3 separate regions of the Homo sapiens genome follow, and regions 2 and 3 are each linked to region 1. The links are contacts of gene promoters, found by promoter capture Hi-C in blood cells and fetal thymus (Javierre and others, 2016). All regions are on one chromosome and are shown on one strand. The core of a region is centred on a gene start or on the middle of the fragment in contact, and the rest is flanking DNA. Distances in the headings are between cores, read along the strand shown. Region 1 holds the start of PTAR1 (protein prenyltransferase alpha subunit repeat containing 1). Region 2 has its middle 7.9 kb from the start of ZFAND5. Region 3 overlaps C9orf85 (chromosome 9 open reading frame 85).

Evidence for each region. The method cuts DNA at HindIII sites, captures the fragments that hold promoters and counts their contacts. A CHiCAGO score of 5 or more calls a contact.
Region 2: a fragment that was not itself captured here is called in contact with the fragment with the promoter of PTAR1 in region 1 in 1 of 17 cell types (non-activated CD4 T cells); the score reaches 6.0 in non-activated CD4 T cells.
Region 3: a fragment that was not itself captured here is called in contact with the fragment with the promoter of PTAR1 in region 1 in 1 of 17 cell types (non-activated CD4 T cells); the score reaches 7.7 in non-activated CD4 T cells.

Annotation. Positions count from the first base shown.
Region 1 is chr9:69,758,319-69,762,300 of GRCh38, forward strand. PTAR1 (protein prenyltransferase alpha subunit repeat containing 1) reads right to left here and starts at 1,693. Exons shown (of 8, transcript NM_001099666.2): 1 at 1,535-1,693. The coding sequence starts at 1,620. LOC105376076 (a long non-coding RNA gene) reads left to right here and starts at 1,777. Exons shown (of 4, transcript XR_929910.3): 1 at 1,777-2,155. RefSeq lists enhancers at 1,191-1,240, 2,715-3,570 and silencers at 1,381-1,850, 3,755-3,982. The HindIII fragment of the contact is 9,606 bases long and covers 955-3,982 here.
Region 2 is chr9:72,371,153-72,375,134 of GRCh38, forward strand. No RefSeq gene overlaps it. Among named protein-coding and RNA genes, the nearest start is that of ZFAND5, 7.9 kb to the left of the region's middle. The HindIII fragment of the contact is 3,712 bases long and covers 82-3,793 here.
Region 3 is chr9:71,912,994-71,916,975 of GRCh38, forward strand. All of the region lies in intron 1 of C9orf85 (chromosome 9 open reading frame 85), which reads left to right. Among named protein-coding and RNA genes, the nearest start is that of C9orf85, 3.3 kb to the left of the region's middle. The HindIII fragment of the contact is 1,574 bases long and covers 1,245-2,818 here.

The DNA.
Region 1 (3,982 bases), core at 443-2,942:
GTAATTTCTTCTAGAAAAATACCAGTGATGAGAAAATACACTCTTCATTTGTCCAACTTTTTTTTTTTTTGAGGTCGTCTCTTACTTGCACTAAGGCTCCCATTCTCAAAAAGAAATCGAAAGACTGATATACAGCAAGGCATCAAAGCATTCTTTAGAAGGCTCAGCAACCACTATGGATACTGCCAGGAAATCATTCCAAACACTCTCATTTTGAAAAAGGCAGCAGTCATAAGGGGGAGGGAAGTGGATGCTGTCAGAGGTGGCAGGTGTGTTTTGAGGCCAGCAGTGTTTTGTTTTTAATGTGGCACAGTTGCACGTCTCCAATTGTGTGCCACAAGGGAGCAAAACATCCAACGGCTTCTTAACTGTTTTACAATCATCACCTTGGAGGAAAAGAACACTTTGGTAAGATACACGTTTGGCAACTTTTTTAGGCAGAAAAGCTGAACCGGTTAGAATACTTAAAAAAAAAAATCATGAGCTCCAGTCTAAAGAATAAAATAAAAATAAATTAAATAATAATAAAAAATAATAAACTAAAAAAAAAAAAAATAAACTCCAAAAACAACTAGCTAAAATGAAAGTAATGCAGAACTGGATGCCATGTTTCTTTTCTTTGAGGAGGAAGAGGTATGGGAAAGGAGGTACATTGTTGCTTCTTCCCTACACCTTTGTATAATGTAGATCTCTCTCTCTCTCTCAATAGCTTTCTTTTCACTTGTTACATAAAAGCAAAGTGTTACAAAAAGTAGACTCTTGCGGTATCTTCCCACAGTACTTCAAGTAAAATGGAAGAGATACATATGTCAGTTCTGCAGTGTCCCGTTAAAGAGGGCAGCAGTGTTGGGATAAAAATGAGTTAACATGCTCCTTGTAACTATGAATCCGCTTATGCTAAAAAGTATCAAGGTTTCATTTGCTTTATCCCAGACTCCACACTGCGCCCACAGAAGCTTCTCTTGAGAATGTTCTGTTCACCTTTCAAAACACAATGTATTATCGGAGTCACTTTACAATTTTGTGGCAAGTAAGGCTAAAGTCAAAAGCAGCCTCAAACCACCTTTAGTTAGTAAACTGAGGGGTTTGAGGCTCATTAAAAGTAAGAGGATCGGTTACCCCCTCTTGCCAACGTCCGGGATGAATCTCAAGAGTTGTGTTTACAAGGCATACACGGACCCACATCGTTGTGTGCGCCCGAGTACCTTAAACACAGGAAGGATGTCGACCTACGGGGGACGTCTCTGGAGTTTCGTGAACTCCTATGAAAAGGTGGGGAGGGACAGAGAAAGTAGTTCCGTTTTGATTTTTTGAGGTCACTTCTAGGGACTCGACCGCGAGCGCGTCCCGGTAGCGGAAAGCCGGGCCAGCGGCGGCCGACAACGGTCCCGCCCGACACGGCTCTGCCTCCTCCCTAGAAGGGCTCGTGGGCCAGGACCCGCTGTCCGCCCGCCGCCCGAGGTCGGGTGGACGCTTGGCCCCGCCCCCGCCCGCTCCCGACGACCCTCGGAGGCGGCGGAGGCGCGCGACTCACATGTGTGGGTTCCTCCTGAAGGCGTTAGTGATGTCCTTCACAACCCGCTGCACCAGCACCGCCACCTCCTCGCTGGTCTCGGCCATGTTGGCGGCGGCCGCGACAGTTCGGGCGCGCCTCCGCGTGAGCCGGGCCGCCGGCGGGAGTTCCGCGGAGAACGAGCGCGCGCGCGCGCGCGCGGGTGCTTCGGCTAGGCCGCGTCCCCGCCGCCGCGGCCGCCGCCGAGCACTTCCGGGTCAGCCAGTTGGCGGCCTGGGCGTGGCGTTAGCTAGGGTTGGTGGCCTTCCAGTGAGTGGAGAAGTTCGCCTCCGCGCGGGTAACGGACTTTCTAAGCGTCAGAGAAGATGCTGGACATTTGTTTGCAAAGTTCTCTCAGGCCTCCGATTTTCTTATTTTAAGTTTTAGGCGAAACCTCAAGACACACTCCCAGAGAGTCAGACACCTTCCTGAACCCCCCCAGCAAGGTCCCCGGGCATTCCTGAAGGAATGTTCAACTGAGGATGCAGGGCCTCTTAACAGTTAGTCCCGGGCGTTTTTCAGAGCTTGTCTGCTTTATTTTCCCAGCCTGAGAGATGAAGAGGTCCAGAGGCATTGCGGCGGAGCGAGTCCCTATTTGACCGTGTTGGTGACCTCCTTTCTAACTGTGCCAATTTTTGTCTCTGAACTTGAAAGCAGCCTTTTTAAAAAACATTAATTAAAATTCTTAAATTTATTAAAGGAAGAGAAAGGAAAGTGAAGGAAAAGTTATTTGCCATCTGTATGTAGGAAGTAGAAGTGAAATCGTTTTTAGATTTTTCGACTTCATTTTGTACTGCATTTGGTAGCCTTTGCGTCAATTTTGGAATTTAAAAAAAAGGATCAAGGCTCTGACAGGGTTTGTTCATAATAGCAAAAATAAATTTTTGTAGGAAAAACGAGCTTTCTAGTTTATTTAGGATTTTGAAATGCCATAACTAAAATTTTTGTGTATCAGGTTTTCTTTTGCACCTCTGGTAGAAAAATCTGGCTGCCCTTGGTTCAGTTTTATTCTTCCACCCTTGAAATCTGGCCAGGTGCGGTGGCTCACGCCTGTAATCCCAGCACTTTGGGGGGCCAAGGCGGGCGGATCACAAGGTCAGGAGATCGAGACCATCCTGGCTAACACGGTGAAACCCCGTCTCTACTAAAAATACAAAAAAAAAAAAAAAAAAAAAAAAGCCGGGCGTGGTGGCGGGCGCCTGTAATCCCAGCTACTCCCCACTGCACTCCAGCCTGGGCGACAGAGCGAGACTCCGTCTTTAAAAAAAGGCCGGGCGCGGTGGCTCACGCCTGTAATCCCAGCACCTTGGGAGGCCGAGGCGGGTGGATCATGAGGTCAGGAGATCGAGACCATCCTGGCTAACAAGGTGAAACCCCGTCTCTACTAAAAATACAAAAAATTAGCTGGGCGCGGTGGCGGGCGCCTGTAGTCCCAGCTACTCGGGAGGCTGAGGCAGGAGAATGGCGTGAACCCGGGAAGCGGAGCTTGCAGTGAGCCGAGATTGCGCCACTGCAGTCCGCAGTCCGGCCTGGGCGACAGAGCGAGACTCTGTCTCAAAAAAAAAAAAAAAGAAATCTGTATCTTTAAAAAGCTATTAAAAAAATAAACTCATGGTGTGTTTAATGTGAACATATGCGGAGCGTTTGAAGTAGTTTTTATGATTGTAAAAGTAAAAGCTATCTATTGCATGTAAAGTGAATGAGAAATATAAACGAAAAATATAAATTTACTATACTCAGTGGCCAGTATTTCCTGTGGGTATGTTTATAAAGGCTGGAGTTAGCCTTCTGGTTGTAAAAGAAGTGAGATAGGACCGGGCACGGTGGCTTACACCTGTAATCCCAGCACTTTGGGAGGCAGAGGCGGAAGGATCACGAGGTCAGGAGTTCGAGACCATCGTGGCCAAGACAGTGAAACGCCGTCTCTACTAAAAATATAAAATTAGCTGGGCGTGGTGGCACGTGCTTGTAATCCCAGCTACTTGGGAGGCTGAGGCAGGAGAAGCGCTTGAACGCGGAAGTAGGAGGTTGCAGTGAGTGGAGATCGCGCCACTGCCCTCCAGCCTGGCGACAGAGCAAGACTCCATCTAAAAAAAAAAAAAAAGAAGTGAGATAGAAGTTTCACAAAATTGTAGCCAGCAAGGTGGGACAGGATTAAGAATTAGTAAAGTCGGCCGGGCACGGTGTCTCACGCCTGTAATCCCAGCACTTTGGGAGGCCGAGGCGGGTGGATACCTGAGATCAGGAGTTTGAGACCAGCCTGGCCAACAGGGTGAAACCCCGTCTCTACTTAAAATACAAAATTAGCTGGGCGTCGTGGTGCATGCCTGTAGCTCCAGCTACTTGGGAGGCTGAGGCAGGAGAATCGCTTGAACCCGGGAGACGCACGTTGCAGTAAGCCAAGACTGTGCCCTGCACTCCAGCCTGGGC
Region 2 (3,982 bases), core at 688-3,187, 2.6 Mb after region 1:
GTTCATGGGTGGTGGGGTTGGCCAGGAAGACAGGAATGGTGTCAGTGATTTAGTTAGAGCCCAGCAACTGTGCTGTTATAAAGCTTAGGCAGGAGGCAATTGTTCCTAAGGTCCTATTAGCCAGCAGAAAAAAAGCTAGAAACAATTAGGGAGGTCAGGATTCAGACAGAAGACTAGCATGAGAAAAGTGGGTAGGGTGGGCCTCTGTCCTGGAGCAATCTAAGTTCTAGGCAGAGAGCCAAGGCAAGTATCTTAAGTTTGTGTAATGTCTTTCCACCTACAATGTATATTCAAATGTATTAATTTGATAAATTCTCACAACAGCCTATTGAAATAACTCTTATCTCTCCTTTTGCTGGAGGAGTTGACTGACTGAGGCTCAGGGCAAAGTTATATATCCTGTCCATTGTCATATATCTAGTGAGAGTACAACCTTCTGTTCTTTGGCACAGTGTTTGTTGCCTCTTCAGGATCACTTCCCCCTTTAAATTTATTTCATAATTATATTTACCATTAGAATGTTAACCTTTTTTTTTTTCTGAGAGGGAGTCTCACTTTGTCACCCAAGCTGGAGTGCAGTGGCGCGATCTCGGCTCACTGCAACTTCTGCCTCCCAGGCTCAAGCAGTCCTCCCACATTATCCTCCGGAGTAGCTGGGACCACAGACACGTGCCCAGTTAATTATTTGTATTTTTGGTAGAGATGGGTTTCACCATGTTGCCCAGGCTGGTCTCAAACTCCTGAGCTCAAGCAATCTGCCTGCTTTGGCAGATGGATTACAGGTGTGAACCATGGCGCGAAGCCTAGAAAGTTAACCATTCTTTTTTTTTTTTTTTTCTGAGACAGAGTCTCACTCTGTTGCCCAGGCTGGAGTGTAGTGCCATCATCTTAGCTCACTGCAACCTCTCCCTCCTGGGTTCAAGAGATTCTCCTGCCTCAGCTTCCCAAGTAGCTAGGACTACAGGCACATGCCACCATGCCCTGCTAATTTTTTTGTATTTTTAGTTGAGATGGGATTTCACCATGTTAGCCAGGATGGTCTCGATCTCCTGACCTCATGATCTGCCCACCTTGGCCTCCCAAAGTCCTGGGATTACAGGCATGAGCCACCGCACCCGGCCATACCATTCTTATCTTGTGTATCGCTCACCTCACCCAGCAGTCTCTAACAGGCAACTTCTGTCTCTTTTGCTAGCTCCAGCTTATCTGTCCATCTCCTAAATGTTGGCATTTTTTAGGTCTAGGTCCCGGGCACTCTTTGTTTTTTCACTGCTCATACTCTCTCAGAGCGACTTTACCCACCTTCATAGATTCAAATGAAGTACTCAAAGGAATGAGTATCTGTACTCATCCCTTGGCTTATAAATGGTTTATTTATGAATTTTTCACTTACAAAGATATAGCTATTTGTATTTATTTATTTATTTATTTTGAGACAGAGTCTCACTCTGTCACTCAGGCTGGAGTGCAGTGGCATGATCTCGGCTCACTGCAACCAGCCTCCTCGTTCTGGACTCAAGAGATTCTCACGCCTCAGCCTCCCCAGTAGCTGGGATTATAGGCATGTACCACCATGCTTGGCTAACTTTTGTATTTTTAATAAAGACAGGTTTCACTGTGTTGGCCAGGCTAGTCTCAAACTCTCTGGCCTCAAGTTGTCCACGTGCCTGAGTCTCCCAAAGTGCTGGGATTACAGGCATGAGCCACCACACCCAGCTGACAAAGGTATATCTATTTTTAAAATTTTACTTACAAACATTTTTCAACTTAATCCAGAAAACTCTTCTTTTTTTTTTTGTTTGTCTTTGCATACTGAAGTTATGCTCTGTCATTGGAAGAGAAATGTATAGCTAACCACTACTATTGTTAGGTAGTGAATAAGTGGGAGTAGTGAATAAATATCTAGAAATAGATATGAATTTATATTTATTCCATGTGGATCAATGGCTCTAGAATGAACAAGATAAAGTTTGAACCTGGGAATTTCAGAGCCAGTACTTCAGATACTGGTATATGACTGATTTAAGTTGTTTTTGTATTATAACTTACAACATCATGACCAACTCTAAATGTGAAGCATATAAATATGTAAGGGAAAATTCTTTTTATTGAAAAATTAAAAGTGATAAACTGAAGCAGGACAAATAAATAAAAACATTAGCTTCACCAAAGAAGATATACAGATGACAAATAAGCATATAAAAAGATGCTTCACATAGGCCGGGCATGGTGGCTCACGCCTGTAATCCCAGCACTTTGGGAGGCTGAGGCAGGAAGATCACGAGGTCAGAAGATCGAGACCATCCTGGCTGACACAGTAAAACCCCGTCTCCACTAAAAAACACAAAAAAATTAGCCGGGCATGGTGGCGGGCGCCTGTAGTCCCAGCTACTTCGGAGGCTGAGGCAGGAGAATGGCATGAACCCAGGAGGTGGAGCTTGCAGTGAGCCGAGATCGCACCACTGCACTCCAGCCTGGGTGACAGAGCGAGACTCCATCTCAAAAAAAAAAAAAAAAAAAAAGATGCTTCACATTATATGTCATCAGGGAAATGCAAATTAAAGCAACAATGAGATACCACTATGTACCTATTAGAATGGCCAAAATCCAGAAAACAAACAACACCAAATGCTGGTGAGGATGCAAAGCAACAGAAACTCTTATTCGTTGTTGTTGGGACTACAAAATGGTAGTCACTTCGGAAGGCAGTTTGATGATTTTTTATGAAGTTAAACATACTCTTACCATATGATCCAGCAGTCACACTCCTTGGTATTTACTCAAAGGAGTTGAAGACATGTCCACAAAAAAACCTGCACACAGATATTCATAGCAGCTTTATTCGTAATTGCCAAAACTTGAAAGCAACCAAGATACCCTTCAGTAGGTGAATGGAGAAATAAACTGTGGTACATCCAGATAATAGAATATTATTCAGTGCTAAAATAAACGTGTTATTAAGCCATGAAAAGACATGGAAAACTTGAATGGATATTACTAAGTGAAAGAAGCCAGTCTGAGGTCCGGGCGCGGTGGCTCACGCCTGTAATCCCAGCACTTTGGGAGGCCGAGGTGGGCAGATCACGAGGTCAAGAGATTGAGACCGTCCTGGGCAACATGGTGAAACGTCATCTCTACTAAAAATACAAAAATTAGCTGGACGTGGTTGGCGCACGCCTGTAGTCCCAGCTACTCGGGAGGTTGAGGCAGTAGAATCGCTTGAACCGGGGAGGCAGAGGTTGCAGTGAGCCGAGATCACACCACCGCACTCCAACCTGGCAACAGAGTGAGACTCTGTCTCAAACAAAAAAGAAGCCAGTCTGAAAAGTACGTACTGTTAATTTCAACTATATGACATCCTGAAAAAGGCAAAACTATGGGAACAGTAAAAAGATCAAGTGGTTGCCAGGGGATAGAGGGGAAAGAGGGAGGAATATGCAGAACACAGAGGATTTTTATAATAGAGAAACTACTCTGTGTGATACTATAATGGTGGCTACACGTCATGATCAATTTATCCAAACCCACAGAACCTACAACACCAAGAGTGAACCCTACTTTAAACCAAGGACTTCGAATGATAATAATGGGTCAATGTAGGTTCATCAGTTGTAACAAACATACCACTCTATGGGATGTTGATAATGGGGAAGGCCATGCATGTGTGGAGGCAGGTGTATATGGGAAATCTCTGTACCTTTCTCTCAATTTTGCTGTGAACCTAAAATAGCTCTTAAAAATAAAGTCTATTATTAAAAATAAAGAAATAAGTGGGATCCCTCAAATTCAGACAAGCTTTGATTGTCACCCCAAAAATTAAAAAACAATTAGGTCTGTTAAGTGCTTGGATAATATAAAATTGAAAAAATAAGAGATTGTTAGGTTTTTGTGTTTTTTTTTGTTTTTTTTCCAGACAGAGTCTCACTTTGTCACCCAGGCTGGAATGCAGTGGCGAGATTTTTTTTTTTTTTTTCCAGACAGA
Region 3 (3,982 bases), core at 782-3,281, 2.2 Mb after region 1:
TCACTCAGATAAACCTAATATTCACAAAAGTTATGGAGCTCAAATTTACTAGGTGTGCGGCTTGAGTGAGTTGTATAATATTTAATTTCTCTGAGCCTTACTTTGGTCTCAAATGCAAATTTGTCAGGATTGTTGGGAGGCGAAACTATATGATTATGCATAAATGGCCTAGGTCATAGTAAGTGTTCAATAAGTGATTAATTTCCCGACATTGATTGGGAAAGCAAAGTCATCTGTTTTTGGTAACCTGTGATCTCCTTTTCCTTTCCTCTTTCTTTCTTTGCTTATTCTACAAATATTTAATAAGCACCTTCCGTGTGCAAGGCCCTGTGTTCATAGGTATACCGTGTTCAAAAGAGCTGACTCTCCCTTCACGGAGTTTATAGTTTCTAGGTGATATGGGCAAAAAGAAAGCAGAAAGATAAGTAAATACAAATTATGATAAATATTGGTGAAGGGCAACACAGCTCAGTAAGGGAGAATAAGGAAGAATATTTTAAATTAAGTGCTCTCCTTTCCCCCACTTAGGTTGAGAGGTTTTTCAGAATGAAAACCTGAAGCAACATTTGGGAAGACTTTCCCAAGTTTGCTCCCATTATCAATAGGTAAACCAGAATAAAAATAAAAAGCTGCACTATTCCAAATAGATGTCTGCGTCTTGTGTATTCTTACCCTAAGGTTGTGCACAAACATTTGCTTTTGATTGTTTTTCATGTCTGTTTTCGTAAAAAGCAGTTTTAATGAGTATTTAACTATAGTGTAGCTTCTCCTACTTGTACTTTTCATTGTGCATTTTCTTGGTGTTATCTAATAACTATGTCATTCTGGTCCTAAATGTTTTCCTGGGTCTCAGGTTCAGTCACTAAGTTGCATTTGACCATTTTTATCTTTTTATCTTTAATTCCTTTCCCTCTTTTAAGTTATGAAAAAGTCTCATTTGTTAATCAGGAGGACCACCAGGCCACTTCATTATTGAAGGTTCTGACAAAAACAACACAAAATATTTTACTGAGGAAAAATCATTCGGTTGATTGTTCATCTGTGTAATGAATAGCTAATAATTGTCTGTGATCATAACAGATTCTTGCATCTGCTATGAGTAGCCATCTAAAGCCAAGACTTTGTCAGAAGCATCTGATCCTAACTTTGTGCCTGTTCTTTACACTGGAAAGCTATTTGATCTGGTGACATCTAACAAAGGAGTGATAAAAAATGCACGGTTCTCTGTAACTCCCCATAAAGCAAGCTTGTCCAACACATGGTGCAGGGCGTCTTTGAATGCAACCCAACACAAATTCGTAAATTTTCTTAAAACATTATGAGATTTTTTTGTGATTTTTTTTTTTTTAAGCTCATCAGTTGTCATTAGTGTTAGTGTATTTTATGTGTGGCCCAAGACAATTCTTCCAGTATGGCCCAGAGAAGCCAAAAGATTGGACACCCCTGCCTTAGAGGACTGTAGTAACAATTGACTACTTGTATTAAATACTTTATGATTTGGTAGGGGTCCTACATGATAGTTTTTCTTTTCCTCCTCTGCCAAGCAGTTTGTTAGGACTCACTGCAATTAGAAGTTGGATAATTACAGATGTTTTATTGGAAGTTAATATAGGTAAAGCACTCATTCTCAAAAGGACACAGATGATAGCTTTCTTTATATGCTTGAATATACTCTAGAAAAGGAGAGTATATTCAAATTTTGTGCCATTTCAAATGGCCAAACTTGGACCAGGGAATCAAAGTAACAAAAATAGGTTTCAGCTCAATATGAGGGAATTATCTGACAGTGAAGGGGCTTGCGCCGGGATTTGTAACCTCCTCTTCCCTGGGGTTATTTAAAAGAGGTCCCTCTGGCCATTGGTCACCGGTACCCTCAAATGACTTATGGGGATTCAGAGGGTCGGCAGTGGGAATAGGTTTAAATCTTTTCTAGTCATTTAGTACTGAGATGTTGAGCAGATCAAGGCAGCCTTCTTTCCCTTACTGGAAAGGCAGTGATGTCCAACGAAAAGAGCACTGGACTAAGAGAAAAGAGCCATTCCTTAGCCCCAGTTCTGTCATTTGTTTTGCTTGATGATGTCAGGCAATTTACCTATAGCTTTTAATCTATGATACTGGGTTAGTACTATCTCTTGTCTTACTTTCCTCTGAGGATTGCTACAGAGATCATTACAAAAATTATTATTATTATTTTTTTTTTTTTTTTGAGACAGAGTCTCGCTCTCTCGCCCAGGCTGGAGTGCAGTGGCGTGATATGGATCACCACAACCTCCACCTCCTGGGTTCAAGTGATTCTCTTGTCTCAGCCTCCCAAGTAGCTGGGATTTCAGGGGCACACAACCATGCCTGGCTAATTTTTGTATTTTTAGTAGAGATGGGGTTTCACTATGTTGGCCAGGTTGGTCACTCCTGACCTCAAGCGATCTGCCCACCTTGGCCTCCCAAGGTGCTGGGATTACAGGTGTGAGCCACCGTACCCAGCTACAAAAATATTTTTAAGAAATAGGGATAAAAATAAGAACTAAGAATAAAGCCCATAATAATTTATGTGGCCCTGCAGTTGATCAAAGCCTAAAAAAATTAATTAGAAAAGAAATGCATGCTTGTTGAAGAATACTGAAACAATAGAGAAGTATATAAGGTACTGTATAAAAGTGAAAGTCTCTGTTCCCAGTTTTAGTCCTGTTCAGATATAGTCACTGTTAACACTTTGATGTGTACATTTCTAGATATGTCTGTATGATACAGTGCATATGTAATAAAATACATCTTTGCCCTTCTCATTCAGTAAAGTGGATGTGTCAGAACAGAAAGATTAAGCTTATTTTTTAAATGGCTGTGTAATATTATACAGCACAAATGTGGATTAGCTTATTTAACTACTTTCCTATTAATAAACATTGAGTTGTTTTCAGTTTTGCACTATGCCAAAAAGGCCGCAGTGAAATTCTGGTATTCCTGTCTGTATTCCACATGTGTTATCTGGTACCAAACATTGTGCTAGATATTGGAAGTATAGGGTTGAGCAAAATATACAGTCACAGTCTTAATTGAAGCTTGTGATTTGGTGGGAGAAGTGACAGGCATTAATCAAATAATCTTTCAAGTATGTTAATACTACAGCAGTAAGAGCTATGAAAGAACGGTCTAGGGAGCCCTGAGAGTATCTATAATAGCATGAAGTCTTGATTATGTTTGGAGGGTTAAGGAAAGCTCCCCAAAAATCAGAAGGATGAGTAACATTAAACTAAATGGAGGAGCATCTGTCATCCTTTTGAGGATGCTATTAATAATATATATATAGTCAGTATTGTTTTTAATAGCATTTCCCAAAATATATTTCTTAGAGCCCCAAGGTCATGTATCTTCTTCATAGGGCAGGAGAAAATTTCATGATCAAATCACTTTGGAAATACTGTATACTAGATCTCACTTTTAGAGGTGGGTCGTAGTATACATTGGAATAAATCAATGTTTTGCAGTTAAAAAATTATTCAACCAAAACTTGCTTGGCTATGGAACGCTTTGATTTACATAATACCTATTGAACTAATTTGTTGTGGAGCTCACTAATTTTAGGAAACTATAGTCTTCATCTTGAGATGGAGATGGAAAATGGAAGTCTATGGGTGTACTCTAAATAATTTTGGAAATATAGTTTTATTAATACAAGTTGAGTATTATTTATCTGAAATGCTTAGGACCAGAGTGTTCTGGATTTCAGATTTTTTCAGATTTTGGAATATTTACATTATATCAGTTTAGACTCTTTAATCCAAAATGTTCCAACAGGTATTTACTTTGAACATGATATAGGTGCTCAAAAAGTTTTAGATTTCAGATTTTTTGGATTAGGGATACTCAACCTGTTATAGCTAATATTTGTGTACTTAAGTGTATTAGGCACTATGTTTAGGCACTATGTATACTTGCTATACATTATCTATAATAATTTCATCTTCAAAGTAACCCTAAGATAGAT